Linked DNA regions of Homo sapiens: regions 1 and 2 are each linked to region 3. Evidence: promoter capture Hi-C in 16 types of primary human blood cells and fetal thymus (Javierre and others, 2016). All regions are on one chromosome and are shown on one strand. The core of a region is centred on a gene start or on the middle of the fragment in contact, and the rest is flanking DNA. Distances in the headings are between cores, read along the strand shown.

The links. The method cuts DNA at HindIII sites, captures the fragments that hold promoters and counts their contacts. A CHiCAGO score of 5 or more calls a contact.
Region 1: a fragment that was not itself captured here is called in contact with the fragment with the promoter of RTN1 in region 3 in 1 of 17 cell types (M1 macrophages); the score reaches 5.6 in M1 macrophages.
Region 2: a contact is called between a fragment that was not itself captured here and the fragment with the promoter of RTN1 in region 3, in 4 of 17 cell types (M1 macrophages, M2 macrophages, megakaryocytes and 1 more). The highest score is 7.5, in M1 macrophages.

The regions. Positions count from the first base shown.
Region 1 is chr14:59,711,094-59,714,005 of GRCh38, forward strand. The region is part of intron 3 of RTN1 (reticulon 1); the gene reads right to left. Among named protein-coding and RNA genes, the nearest start is that of MIR5586, 66 kb to the left of the region's middle. The HindIII fragment of the contact is 1,820 bases long and covers 607-2,426 here.
Region 2 is chr14:59,628,760-59,631,572 of GRCh38, forward strand. The region is part of intron 3 of RTN1 (reticulon 1); the gene reads right to left. Among named protein-coding and RNA genes, the nearest start is that of MIR5586, 17 kb to the right of the region's middle. The HindIII fragment of the contact is 3,798 bases long and covers 1-2,813 here.
Region 3 is chr14:59,868,894-59,872,066 of GRCh38, forward strand. It overlaps RTN1 (reticulon 1), which reads right to left and starts at 1,883. Exons shown (of 9, transcript NM_021136.3): 1 at 1,497-1,883. The coding sequence starts at 1,737. RefSeq lists a silencer at 1,792-1,891. The HindIII fragment of the contact is 1,996 bases long and covers 481-2,476 here.

The DNA of each region.
Region 1 (2,912 bases), core at 267-2,766, 160 kb before region 3:
CCTTAATAACAAACCTTGTTTTTAATTGGGTTCTGCAGTATTCAAAATGAGAAGAAGCATTCATTGCAGAAGGTTTTCCATTTTATGGGGGTTATAAAGTTTCAACAGACTGGTCTTGTGCAAATTCGATAGGCTCAGCTCAGCAAAGAAAAGGCTGAACACAGGCCCACAGTGATATCACCTTCTGCTTTGCCAACTCAAGTCTTTTATTGCCTATGTCAGCTGAACCTCAGAAAGCATCCTTCTCTGCTGACTACATTTGCCCTTTCCTGGGGTGATCACTCCAGGAATGAACAACTGAGAGATAAATGCTCTTCGTGAGTAATAGTAGGAGATCCACATATAATGTTCTCTTCTTAATTAGCCTATTATTCTTTAACTTCTCTTTGGACTCAATAACATTTAAATGTGCTTTTGAAAAAGAACACAAGCTATAAAGCACATTGACATAAAATAAAATCCCACAACAGATTTCAGTGGCTTCACCTTTGTGTATGGAGTTGCCATTCACTTATTTATTAAATGTTTATTAAGACCCCACTACTCACTAGGCATCACTGTAAGCACTAGAGATACAGCAGTGAACAAAAGCCTGTGATCTCAAAAAGCTTAACGTCTACTTGGGAGAGATAGGCAATAAACAAATAAAGGAAGGCATACATCAAGTACTGGGTGATGATAAGTGCTTTGAAGATCTAAGACAAGAGATCATTGTGAAACAGGTCCATGATAGGGACCTCATCAAATTTCCAGTGCGCTCCATGCATCAAGATGCATAGAGTCATGTGACAAATTCTGGCCTACGAGCCATAGGCAAAAGTGACATGTATCATTTCCAGGGGAGGCTTTTAAGAGCTGGTGTCAGCTCTTTCTTCCTCTGGCATGGCAACCTGAGAAGCCATATGTTGATATTCAACTGGCACAGAAGAAAGGGAGCTTGGATCCCTTTGTAGCTGAATAAAGGAAAGCCTCCACCAAATAGCAATAGTTGAAAGCCAGAAATACATGTTTGTTGAGCTAAGCCATTGAAATTTTGAGGTTTGTTACTGTAGTATGGCCTAACAGAGTCAAAAGAGTAAGGCACACACCTGAGGCTAAGGGAGGATTGTGGAGGGAGCCCCAAAATACATAGGCCTAAAGATAACAAAAATCTATATACAGCAGATAGAGCTAAGTGGTATCCAACCCTGGCTGGACATTTTAAATCAGCTGGGGCATACTAGAAAATACTGATCTACAGATGTTATATCCACATATTATATTCTGAGATATTATGGGTGAGGAACTAAGCATATATTTATTGAAAACTACAGTCAACAGAAAATGACAAATTGGGTCAGCTGGCTTTAGGAAACCTCCCGAGAGGCAACCTGTCCCACAATATACTTTGGAAAGAGCTTATTAGTGAGATCAATTCAACTTCCGATAAATTGTTGGAAAGCAGTCAATCAAACTGTGACATAAGAAGAAAACTTGCAAACTTACTAACTGAAATGTTATGAAACAGTATGTTGCAGAAAGTATTCCTGCATTAAATAAGTAATTAGGCCGGGCGTGGTGGCTCACACCTATAATCCCAGCACTCAGGTAGGCTGATCACCTGAGGTCAGGAGTTTGAGACCAGCCTGGGCAACATGGTGAAACCCTGTCTCTACTAAAAATACAAAATTAGCTGGGTGTGGTGGGGCATGCCTGTAATCCCAGCTACTTGGGAGGCTAAGGCAGGAGAACTGCTTGAACCTGGGAGGTGGAGGTTACAGTGAGCTGAAATCACTCCCATTGCACTCCAGCCTGGGTGACAAGAGTGAAACTCCATCTCAAAAAAAAAAAAAAAAATGAGTAACTGTATTAGATTCTCCCAAAGCCCCATCTCATTGTATAATTATTATTAAAATAAATATTTAAATAGCAACAACATTAGAGGATAAGCACTTTACCTAAATTATCTCAAATAATCATCCCAAGAATCCAGTGATGTAGGTACTATTATCTCCTTTGAACAGACAAAAAAATCGAAATGCAGACAGGTTAACTTGTCCAGAGTCACATAGCTAGTAGTAAGTGGAGAAGGTAAGACCCAGATCCAATTGGCGCACGATTCTTTAACGCAGTGAAAAGGGGATGTGCAATCAAAACGATACGGTGTCTTGAGGGAGGGAATCTAGACAAGGGGCCACTGGTGGGGGAAAGGACCTCAGGCATGGGGTTGGGAGCAGCTGCTGTGATTCTAGTTGCGGATTCCCAGTCCTTTGAAAACAGAACAGTTTCACAGGATGCCAAAGCATGATGGAAATTTCCGATGAGAACAATCTACTCTTTTTGCTCCAGGCAATAATGAGCTGAGCTCCCCACTAGGATGAAGTTCCCCTCATACATTTCCAGTGTAACTCATAACTTGGCATTCTGGTTTCGACCAGACTCAGACAAGCTTCAGAACACTTACTGCTGAGAATGGGTCCTTGGACTAAGGAAAATACTGCAAAAAGTCACAAGCATGTCTTACCCTCAGGCAGCTCACTGCTTCGCCCAATTCAGAGAGAATCAGTGATTTCCCAAGTTTGCTAGTCTAGCCCTAGACAGGGACTTCAGTTTTCCTAGGTGTCTCCTAGCTTTTAGAGAGTGCCAGCTACTCACCTTGTGGTTATACAAGATTTGTATAGTTTTTAATGACAACATTTCAGGAAGAAGCAATAAAACATCTTGAAGACAGAACTGTCTTTTTAAAATTTGCTCAGAATTACCATACCAGTAATTCCAGCAGTTGAGCAAAGGACAGTACCAGCAAAGGACAGTATAAAGGGGAAAGGAACAGAGAAGAAGCAAGACCTATAAAATTATGCTTATAAAAATTAGACTAATAGGCCGGGTGCGGTGGGTCACGCCTGTAATCCCAGCACCTTGGGAGGCCGAGG
Region 2 (2,813 bases), core at 204-2,703, 240 kb before region 3:
TAAAACCTCGGAGACATAAACTGAGGCAACCGAGTCAAACCGCATAAGATTGTGATGAAATAGATTAAGATATTTAATTCATAAGATTTTGTGAATATCTTATACAAATAGAAAAGAAAACCTGCCATCTTTGGATATCTACTTTTGTTAAAAATACTAGAAACTCATAATCATGGTCTAAAATCCAGTGTTTATGTCCAACTAAATTTGATCTTATACCAAGCCATAGTTGTTTGTCAGGTGTGTATATCAAATAAACTGGATGGATCTAAACACAGAACAAGAATAAAATGTTACAAAATATTTTCACAGCTGCCTTCTATATTGAACATATGTTCTTCCACGTAATTGTCATCATTCTTCAAAACATTGTGCCTCAACTGGCATACATTTCTTATTTACTGGCTTTTAAATTTATCAGCTCCATCGATTTACTTTTGACAACGGTATTTCCAACACTCACATAATTTGAAGTAGACGACTGTATTTTATGTCATTGCCACCCAATCCAACAAACAAGAGGCAAGGTAAGCAGGCTTTTAATTCTGAGATTTATGTTTACTTTTTCTTAAAATATATACCGAAGCAAAACCCTACAGAGGCATTAAAGATAAAAGGACATCCTATCCTTCCTGTGATATAGAATTACAAGGGGAAGATGCCAGGTTTTTACAAAATCAGCTGCTGCTCCAGAGTATTCTTGGTCTCCTGAGGGATGCTGCAAAACCCTGCAGGTTAAATTAAACGCGCCTTCTTCAGAACCATCTTTGTTAAATATGAAAAGACACTACCTCCGACAAACACCCAAGTTACTACACACAATTCATTCTTGCAAATTATCTTTCTCCTCATACTCTGTAACTGCAAGGTGAATTTTAATGTAACAAAGGAGAGATGGATGTGTGAAGTGTGAGGCTGAATAAAAATGGCTGAAAAGCAATCCAAGCGAGGCTGGAGGGTAGCCACACCCAGTGCTAATATGGACTATTCCAAAATAAATCTGTTATACCAAGGGCCACGGGCACTGTTTCGTTCTTTCCCTCCATTTATTTCACAGATACCTATTATTAATAAATAGTAGTCACAGGTTACTCCAATGACAGAAAAAAACCCCAAATATTTCAAAGTGAACCATCCTAATATGTGGCTACGCCATCATATTTTCAGGATTTCGAGAGCTAGTCTGCATCTCCACTCTCCTTTGTGTGACCACAAATAACAACCCTGAAATGGGTGTGTCCCTCTTAAAAGGATGCACTCCAGCCCTCTCAGTTAATGGTTCTGCCAGGAGATTTCAACCTTTGGGCAGAAATAAATGCACTGGGATGCATGGAACAATAAGAAAGCACTTTAACTCCGGGGATGAGAAAACATTAAACAAGTACTGAATGATGCACAGATCCCAAAAGAACTCCCGGAGGAGGCGATTGATGCATTATTTAAAATACCAGCATTACAACAAGAAAACAAAGGGGTGGGGGTGGGGTTAAAAAAAAAAAGAAAAAAACAACAACCAAGCACCATCCATTTTGATTCTTGAAATAAGAGGTTTACTACCCCCCAACACAAAGCTCTGGGGTATAAAGCATGCACAGGTCCCACAGGTGAAATGATGCACAATGGACGAGTCCAGGTCCCGGGTTTCCCGTGCGCCTCAGGCATGCACTACTGAAATAAAGAGAATACCCTGACTTTTCCAGTTGCTCCACACACAGTCCATCTTGGTGGAATCGGCAGTGGCCTGCATCGTGCGGGCTTTGGGGGCTCGCCGTGGCTCTCCTCGGGGGCGCCGAGCGTGCACTCAAGCGTTGGTGCCCGGCTGCTGCGGCTGGGCTCGCAGTGGCCGCGCGGCTGCGGAGAGACTGAGGCTGCACCAGGCGGCGCGCGGTGAGGGGCGGGAGCGTCGCTGGCGCCGCAGTCTGCGCGGCCGGCAGCGAATCAGCGCGGCGCGGCCCCGGAGCCGCCTGCGCGCATGGGGATGCGGGCGCCGCTCCACGCGACAGCGTTGGCTGGGCTGCCCAAGGGTGCTACCCTGGAGACGGGTAAAGCGGTTCTGGCCGCGAAGGCGCTGACGCGGACAGTGGGTGGGAGGTTTGGGAGGAGGGGAAAAAGGGCTGACGGTGGGGGTGAGAGGAGGAGGACTTGGGCTGTTCCTGGGAGTTCTTGACTCCCAGAATATGCGAGGTGCATATTCTAGAAATTTCTGAGAAACCCAAGAAACCTGCTGGACAAGACCAAGTCAACGGCATCATAAATGTCAGGCTTGCAGCATAATGTTCCCTAATTGTTGCCACCGTTTACCTTTCACTTCTCCCTCTAACTCTTAAAAATCTGAACTCGATGAATTTTAATTGCCCAGAATCTTCTGAAGAATTGCCAGATTCTCTCCTTTTGGAATATTCCACAGATATCCAAAACCTTTGTTGGCAAGCAACAATCACTGGAGAGAAAGCCTACTGCTCTGTCCCAGAGGGCTTGTGTATTTCTTGGGTTACCCCTCTCTGTTTGTGGGTTGAAGGAATCCATGTCAGAATGCGGTGCCTGTAGACCCCAGACCAAAGCCCTTGGACTCTGGTACGTGGAGTCATTGGTCAATGCAGTGACAATCCAAGGGTGTCATTTGTGGGGACGTTCAAACAGAACTCAGGGAAGCAAAGGGCATTCTGTCTCAACAGTGTCATCTTTGGGATTGACCACTGGGGGGCAATGGAGGTGGGTGGTGTGTATTTGGGAGATAAGACTTTTGGCTTCCAAGCCCAGGTAGTTAAGGATGTCAGGAGTCCACAGTTAAAATGCAAATGTCTAAGGAAGGA
Region 3 (3,173 bases), core at 633-3,132:
TTCTTTTGCAATTATAAAGAGTTTTGTTTTCACTTGGATGCAGAAGTTGAAAGAGAGACTGAGCAGCCATTCTTAGATTTAAATCCTCCCCCACTCCTAGGGATATAATAATTAATATATAACCTTTGGCGTTTGGCGTTGGGGCTTTTGAGTACTTTTCTTTCTTTCTTTTTCTTTTTTCTTATATAGGGTCTCCACTTTTTCTCTTCCTTTCAGGATATTGACAATTTTTATTCAACGCATTCTCCAAACCTCTTTTCCCCAGCTCAGATCTTCTGTACCAGGGCAGTTAATTACGATTACCTTAGACATTCCACATAACCCTTAAGAGAAGCTTACGAAAAGGGGTTTCTTTAAATCAACCACCAAGAGCACACACACCAGTCCCACTCCCCTTCCCCTCCTCTGGGAGCACCCCCCACCCCAGGCCTTCTAGCTCTACATTGCCAAAACTACACAACTCCCACTCCACCATAGCAAAGCTTTCTCAGGAAAGAGCACCACACAGCATCCCCTTTCCTCTCCCTGGAAACAGCGTTAACCAGGCCGGCAGCCTCAAAGCGCGCTTCCTGGATCCTTTGACCAGGATGCGCCAGGGGCCTGGGCTCCCGCTGGACACTGGCGCGCTCAGACTTTGAATAGGGCGTCAGGCGAAGAATGGCCAAACCCAGGGCAATTTCCGGGGTGGGGGGGGGGGGGCGCTTAGACTGCTGGTAAACTGTACCACGTCCACTCACCACCACCCAAGCCCTCCAACCCACAGCCAGGCCCGCCGCACTTAGGACTTGAAGTTTCAATGCTCCCTGCAAGGTGGGGCCATCCGGGCAGCGGCGAAATACAGGTTTTGGGCGGGGGCAGCCACAGCACCCAACCCTCTTGCAAAGCTGTGCCTCCCGAATTAGGGACAAACTCCCTGGGATTTGTTTTCTGCGGGAGAAAAGGCGGAGGGATGTGGGGGGAGTAAGGTGTGGTGGCGATTCGTGGAGGGCAAGGGTAAGGGGCAGTTACAGCCACATCTCTGCCCTGGACAGAGCCGGGTCCAGGGGCCGCGGGCCTGCCCGCCGCTCGGTTGTCAGCATCTCCTGTAGCCGGCGCGCACACTGCGCGCAAACACGCCCCCCAAAATCCCCACAACCTGTCAAACGGGCCCTACAGCTCGGAGCCTCCTGGCAGGAGGGAGAAACTTGTACCCAGACTCGCCAGCAGCCAGAATGCTGCTGTTTGCCTATGAGAACAATTTTTAAAGCGGAAATAATCATGATAATGAAATAAAAGGATCAAAAGCATCTTGACTTTTTCTGAGCCTTTGGGAAAAATAAAATTGTTGTTTTCTACCAGCCCGCGAATATTCCCAGTCGCCCGTGGCGACGCGGGGGTGGGGTCGGCGCTCAAGGCAGAAAGCGCGAGGCAGGTGCCCAGGAGAGCCGCGCAGAAGGGGACTGACTGGGGGGCCCTGGTCCCCGACGCCATTTGAGGGGCAGCGGCGCCCGCCTTACCTGTGGATGCAGTTTCCATGGCAACGGGCGACTGCCGGGCGGGGCCCGAGCCGGCTTCCCGCGACGCCGCTTCCCGGGCCCTGGCGCCCAACCCCGGGCTGGGCTCCCCAGCCTGCGGCGCCGGCGTGGCCCCTTTCGGCGTCACCGCTTCGTTCTCCCCCTCCCCCCGGTGCCTGAGCCACTGGGACCCGGGGCCGGCCAGCGGCAGCAGCTCGTCCTGCGGATCCCCCGGCGCGGCCATGGCTGGCGGTCCCCCGGCGCGGCGACGGCGGCTTGGCTGGGCAGAGGCTCGGTGGCTGCGCGGGCGCTCCCTGCTGCTGTCCCCGGAGGGACTCGGCGCTCAGGGAAGCTGCGGTGTCTCAGCGTCGCCGCCGCCTCTGCTGCAACTCCGCCGAGCCGCTGCCTGCCGCTCTTCCCGCTTCAGCTCCTCCTTCTCCCCCCTCCTCTTCCTCCGGCCCCGCCGCGGCCGCTGCCTGCGCTCCTCCTCCTACTCCACTCGCTGCTGCCGCCGCTGCTTCGCTATTCCCAATCCTGTTATTACGCAGGTGAAAATGGCCTGCTTGGTCCGGGTCCTCCTGGGCACGTCAGCCCCCAACCTGCAAATGGCAGGCCCCGGTTAGGGGATGTGCCAAATCCACTCGAATCTTCCTCTCGTTTGGGGAGGAAAAAAAAGGAAGAACCAGCAAGTAGCAGCAGCCACCAGCAGCGTCGCCTTCCCAACTGAGAAAGTTAAGCCCCGACTGGTGTCCTGGGTCCCGAGGCAAAGAGGGAAAGCTAGAGAACTCAGGGCCACAGTTCTGAGAGTGACCAGTATGAGTTGTGGAGGGGACACAGGTCTGAACGGGGAAGGGGTGGAGATGGGTTCTGATGGCAGATGGAGACCAGGGAAGCTGCAACCCCGCGGTTAAATCCTGCGTTTCCAGAATGGGCCTGAAAATAGTGGAGTAAAGAAATGAGTTATCAGGACAGCCTCCAAAAAAAGCTTAACAGATCTCACCCTGACCAGCCCTGAGGGCAAACAGGGTGTCAATAGGCAAGGACAAAAGCTGTACATTTGCTTTCAGAAACACTGAGCCAAGGCCATCCTAATCATAAGCTGTCTGTGCAGTCCGTTGTATTTCAGAATTTGGACATTCCATGAAGCTTGCATCTTTTTCTTTACAGTTCACTGTGATAAAATGGAAGATAGTCAGCAAATAAACCCAAACTCAGAGGAGGAAAGTGACTTGCCTTATCATATGTTGTGCCCATACGAAGACCCATCTTTTCAAATGTCTTGTGTTTTATTGGTTCCCAAGTTGTTTATATAATAAAATAATGTGCCTTTAAAAACTAAGATTCACCACAACACACAGGGTGAAGGAATAGGTTTTTCTGCTGTTTCTTCTCTAGGAAAGGTGGGCGCAGACGGTACCGCACACACTGTGAGACTGTGGGACTCTTGGCCACCATGCGCATCTTGAGGATTTCATACCTGTCCATTGGTATATTCAAAGGCCAACTTCAGGACCATTCAGGTGCTCCTCAATAATGCTAAAATGAAAAAGCCCAGAGTCTGCCTAATCTTTTGTTCTGCTAGTGCACTAATGTTCAAAAGATGACAATAAATTAGAGAAAAATCATTCACTAAACAATAAATATGGCCTCCTGAAGCCAGATATCCCTGGAAATCTGATG